Linked DNA regions of Homo sapiens: region 1 is linked to region 2. The links are contacts of gene promoters, found by promoter capture Hi-C in blood cells and fetal thymus (Javierre and others, 2016). All regions are on one chromosome and are shown on one strand. Each heading gives the region's core, a stretch centred on a gene start or on the middle of the fragment in contact. The rest is flanking DNA. Distances are from core to core; before and after follow the strand shown. Region 1 overlaps MSRB3-AS1 (MSRB3 antisense RNA 1). Region 2 holds the start of HMGA2-AS1 (HMGA2 antisense RNA 1).

Evidence for each region. Contacts are between HindIII fragments. The CHiCAGO score rates a contact against its expected background, and 5 or more counts as called.
Region 1: a fragment that was not itself captured here is called in contact with the fragment with the promoter of HMGA2-AS1 in region 2 in 1 of 17 cell types (endothelial precursors); the score reaches 6.5 in endothelial precursors.

The regions. Positions count from the first base shown.
Region 1 is chr12:65,531,841-65,534,618 of GRCh38, reverse strand. All of the region lies in intron 2 of MSRB3-AS1 (MSRB3 antisense RNA 1), which reads left to right. Among named protein-coding and RNA genes, the nearest start is that of LINC02454, 70 kb to the left of the region's middle. The HindIII fragment of the contact is 7,122 bases long and covers 1-2,778 here.
Region 2 is chr12:65,880,655-65,883,584 of GRCh38, reverse strand. It overlaps HMGA2-AS1 (HMGA2 antisense RNA 1), which reads left to right and starts at 1,260. Exons shown (of 3, transcript NR_158985.1): 1 at 1,260-1,867. All of the region lies in intron 3 of HMGA2 (high mobility group AT-hook 2), which reads right to left. The HindIII fragment of the contact is 6,963 bases long and covers 1-2,930 here.

The DNA of each region.
Region 1 (2,778 bases), core at 22-2,521, 350 kb after region 2:
TTTCTACCCCCATTCTACGACTATAAAAAACACACAAGGCTCTCTTTACCACATTCCTCAGGTTTTAAAGCCACTGCTCCCGCTGTCCTGCCTCCCCACTCCTAATACTTTTTTCTTTCTTTTTAACATTTGAGGAAGAAAATGTTATGGTTAACTGCATTTGAATTCCACAATGTCACTGTAACATGTAATAAATACCTTTTATTATTTATTACCAAAATGCTTAGGGGCTGTGGAAGACTAAAGGCTATTCTGTTCTTTCTGATGCAGCTCTAACAAGTATATTCCAGTTACTTGGGGGAGGGGGCACAGCGGGCTTGGTAATTTAATCTTCTCAATGCCACAGGCCATGTCTCCGTGATTCTGCTAGAATTGTATGTGACTGGAAGATTTGTTTTAGCTCAATCTTTGCAGCCTTGAGGATGGCGGGTTCTCAAAAACACCTATCCAGCCCAGCAGCACTACCTGAATGAGCAAGGGGGAAACCCAATGAGCAAGGGTCTGGGTCGCCCCAGAATCCACAGCAATCAGACAATTCTGTCTTAGGGTAAGGGCTGCAGAAAGCACTGCACATTCAGAGTTAGCTGGGCAAACTCACTTTGGGGATATTTTTGGCACTTTTAAAAACGGTGGCTAAAACGACCCAGAGACTATGAGCCCTCCACACCCCACCCCCCATAGCTTTTCATACCTGCAACCCAGGAATTTTGCTTGCACTAAAAAGGCATCTTCCAAGAGGACCTATGAACTTAAAACAAATGCTGTTTAATTTGCCATTCATTAGGGGTGTATCTGGATTGATTTATTGCACCCTTCTGACCCCATGTCTTTGGAACAGCATTCCTTCACGATTACACAGGGAAAGGACTCAGGCAGGACTTCCAAGGATAAGCGTAGAAGGCCACAATAATACTTCAGATTGCTGTGTATCGGGTAGCCCGAAGGAAATGCTTCGCCCAATTCAACGCACAATGCGAATGAGCCAAAAAAGTTTGTAAATTTTTTGACCCAGGTTTCTCGAGCCTTTCCTAAGGGATGTGGCCAGCACAGACGACTATTATCCAGATTATGGGCTTTTGAGTACTTCCACATTCAGGATATTCTGAGAATGTCTAACCACACACAATTGATCACAGAAATTGCAATCCCTTTTGATCCTGAGGAAGGAGGAAGTGAGCTCTTCCTGGTAACTACCCAGCAGCAGCAGAGACAGGAGGAGGGAGGGAGAGAGAGAGAAAGAGAGAGAGAGAGAGAGAGAGTGTGGGGAGGAGGGAGAAATGCACCAGGGAGAAAATACATTTCTACTGGCAGCTCAATACGCCAGTGGTAATCAGAAAATGAGAAAAACTTTGTAAAGCTCTCAGAAGAGCCAGGCTACAACAATTGCCCTTTAGAAATGAGATCAATGGCCTCTCTTGTGGGTGGCACAAGTATAATTACAGCAATTAAGAGAAAAGACTACAGTCTATTTTTTTTTTTTTTTTTGCTCTTAATGTATAAACAAGCAATTCCGGCACTTGTAAGCCAAAAAGAATTGGTACATGGCTTAATACTATCTACTACTATGACTCTCCTTGCTTTAATTGGCTTCCAGGAAAATTTCATGAGCCTTTGTGGTTGTGGTTTAGTTAAATACACACATTTACCTAGAGGCAGGCTGGGGGAGGAGAGCAGAGTGCTTTCACTGACTATCCAACTCCCAGCAGACCAGTTAGCCCCCAGGCTGCCCGATCAGAGTCCGTGAGGCTGGGAGGAGAGGGATCCTGGCTGAGGGCCTGTGCTCCTGTACTTCCCGTGATGCCTTGAATACTGTGTTCCCCTTGGAGCAGCCATAATTTCATGTGACCTCTACGTCCTACATTCCTCTCCCAGTCTCCCTTCCTCCTACCCCTAAATGGCTTGTGTTGGGGTGTCTAGCAAGCATCCAACTCTTGTTTTGTTTTTCCACTGAAGCCCAATGGCCATAGAAGAAGTAAAGAGGAGTCTGAGGCAGTGGATGAGCTGGAAAGTTTCTCATTTTTTGTGGTTGGGGGCTACTAGGAAGCCCCTCTCAGCTCCAGCCTCCTCACCCAGTGGCTAACATTCTACTATTTGTGAGTGGCTTCCCTAAGGATTGCTTAGGATTTATTGGTGCAGTTAAATAAATGAATCCCTGGCTATCCACCATGGAACGCAGCTACATGGAACTGCTGCTGTGAAAAGAGCTTGATTGCAAATCAAGGCCTGCAAATTCTCTAGAGGATGACTTCTGACCTCTCCCTGAAGAATTTGGTGCATGCTTCATAGTCTAGCTGTAACTCAGGTCATCCTAAACATAGTCTCTGCACATAGTGACAATCCATCCAGCTATTTTCTCATGATGCAATAACGGACCAGCAGACAGAAATTTAATTTTATTGATAGAAATTTATTTCTTTTGTTTAAGAATTGCCTTACATTGCATTTTTGAAATGCAAATGCCTTTGCTTTCCTATTTTGGTGCCCATGCAAAATAAGAGGAACTTTTCTCAAGATGAGGCTGATAGGGGAAATGTCCCTGGCTAGGTTGGGAGACCTGAGCCCTCCTACCACCTCTGTGGCTGTTTGGTTAGGGAACCAAGAAGCTGCCTATGTGGGCTTTCTCATCATCTTGTACTCCTAGGGCAGCTCTTTCTTGCTTATCCAGGCTGTCTTTCTTACTGAATTTTTACAGGAAGCTCTCACTACTCCCTCATACTCTCACAAAGCTCACCTAATGGTCCTCTTGATGATTCAAAAGAGGCTAGAGCTGGTCAGGAA
Region 2 (2,930 bases), core at 11-2,510:
GGGGTAAGCAGGACATAGCACAGTGACTAAGTGCATAGGAGCATTTATTAGCTGAGTGATCTTGAACAAGTTATTTAACTTCTCTCTAAGTCTCACTTTCCTCATCACAAAAGGAAGAAATATTTCATAAGGTTGTTGTGGAAACTGAGGTAATATATAGACAGTACTTTGCACAATACCAGACACCCAGTAAGGGCTCAAGAAATGGTATTGTTGTTATCCTTATCTTTAACAAGTGATTCACAACCAGTTAGTGTCAGAACAGGATGCAAAGCACTTTTGGAGTATCTGTTGCTATAAACCGAGTTCCTTATCCTTTGCATCTATCTGGGTCTAAGGAGGCAAGATCACATAGCATTAACATTTTCCACAAATGTGGTGTGATCCATCGCCTTTCCTCTTCTTTCACCCCTAGAGTAAGCCTTCAGCCTCTTAGGAAGTGTTTTCCATCAGAATTTAGCTTTGAAGTTGAACATTTTAAACTCTGTTGGGAAGGTTCAGACGCACATTGACAAAGAAGATAAACAAAGAGTCAGGAAATCTAAACGGGGAAGATGCCATGGCTCACATTACCTGCTTCCTCCTAGTTGGAGTTGAGCTCTTCCTGGAAGCGGGGCAGAGTCTGCCATTTGATTAAACAATTCAACATCAAAGCTGAACAAAAACATATAATCAATCTGATCTTAATTCAAGTGTGCCTACCCCTCCTTGTGAAAAGCAGCCTTGTTTTAAAAAATATTTCCCTAGCAGATCAGGTATTTTTGAACAACTCCCTATCGTTTCTGCTTCACTTCCATCTCAAGTTCTGGTTCACATAACTAGCCAACATTTACTGAGGGCCCATTAAGTGGCCAGGCATTGTGCCAAGTGCTTTGTTTATGCTTTCTCATTTAATTGTCACAACAACCCTTAGAGGTATTTTCTCATCCCCATTTTACAGATGAGATGGAGGCTGGGGAGAGTAAGTCACTTGTCCAGGGTTACACTATTAAGAGCTGAGCGATTAAAACCAAACAGCAGTGGGGACAGGCCCTCAGGAGACATTTCTACTCCTGGCTTGGTCACTGCTCAGATACGTCACATGTCTTCTAGGCCTCAGTTTCCCGGCTTGGAGAGGATGCAGCCTCTCTAGAAGTTCCCTTCCACAGCCTGCGGCAGCTTCCCAGGGCGGGCGGGCTGCTTTGTTTCCACACTCAGCTGCTGTGGCTGGGGCCTCCCTGGGCTCTGCCCTGTTTTGTTTTTGCTGCTGGACCTGCTACAGACGCAACCCTGGCAGCGCAGCCCGGAGCACAGCCGAGGCTTCCTCTTTCTCTCAGTTCCTGGCTGCTTCAGTATGAACAGAAAAGGTGGGCAGGGGCCAACTGGCAGGAGCCTCCGAAATAGCAGCACATGATCCTCCTACCAGCAGCAGAAAGGCCAGCCCGCAAGACCTCGCCGCCTGCCCAGCTCTGTCATTGACTAAGGTTGCTTTTGTCAGTACAGCCGCCAGGGGTTTCCACGCTCATTCCCCTCCGGACAAGGTGGACAGCTTTGGTGATAGACAACTGGGAGGTAAAACTCCACAGAGCCATGCCAGCGACTGACCGCCCAGGGACAGGAGATGGAGACGTTCAGCTGCAAAGGCTACGGAGGAACCCCCGCAATTGGAATCTCTCCATGCCTTCTGCAGCATGGAAACATACTCCGGGACCTACCGGGGCTCTCTCGGGCCACCTCTGAGTGCAAGGGAAAAGAGTGCAGTTCAAGGAAGGGAATGTGTCTGTCATCCCACCACTTGCGCGCAAGGCCAGTTCCGGGATCAGCAGGCTTCCTTCACCAGCACGGGCTCTTCATTAGCAACCACTGGGAGGGAATGTGTGCGGAGTCAGTGAGTGAAGCTCTCCTTCAGCAATTTCTCTCCTCCTCTCATATTTCTCCCCTCTCTCTCTCTCTTTCTCCCTCCCTCCCTCCCTCCCTCCTTCGCTCCCTCTGGGTCCAGGACAATACTCAGGCCAGGACAGTTCCAGTCATAACTGGATCTTTCCATTACTTGGTAGCACACAGGAGGATTTGTTGGAGTGGTTTTTTGTTTTGTTTTGTTCTGCTACTATTAAGCAAGATTGCTTCATAATCCTTTAAGGGTTTTTTTTAGCCAAGTCTTATTTACATATCCTGGCCAGCAAGCACGTGATTAACCCAAGGATGTTGGAGGGAAGGCAGATGCTACATCTGAAAAAAATCTGATTATGTTTCATTCTGGAGATACAAACAGCCGAGCTGTCAAAAGGACAACAGTCTCTTGGGCCAACATGACACCAAACTCTCAAACTCTGGAGACCCTCAGAGACAAGGAGGAGGAGCTGCTGAGGTAGGGGCACAGATGCGAGGAGTTCTTCTCCCTCTCTCCTTCTCTTTCACTATCTCCACTTTGGGGGCAAAGTGTCAGGATAGCCAGAGGTACACATAATCTAATACATGGAAATGGTGGTAAACTGCCTGTCAATTCACCGCACCACCATAATATGTCTAAAATGTGGTGCCTGTCTACAACTTACATGCCACCCAGAAAACAAGCTGCACTGGCATTTCTGCATTGACAGAAAGGACATTTGAAAATTTTCCCTACAGGCATTATTTCAACTGATATTTACGAGTGGTTTTATGGGATAGAATCGTGCCAGTCATATCAAGGAACTTTTCATATCTTTCAACCCATGCTAAGATAAATAGAGCCAGTTATGATTATTCTCATTTCTTGAAAGGTACCTAATGATCCACCAGAAAGTTAAATGAATCCTCACTTATCAGAGGAATTTTTTTTTTAAGTAAAAGAAACCTAAACCCCAAGACCTAGACTCCTGGAATAAGAATCTCTTTACCAGTGAAAATTCTTAAACATTAAATAAGCATTTACCGGGAGATATCGATGAGGTCTTAACTGTACATTGTCT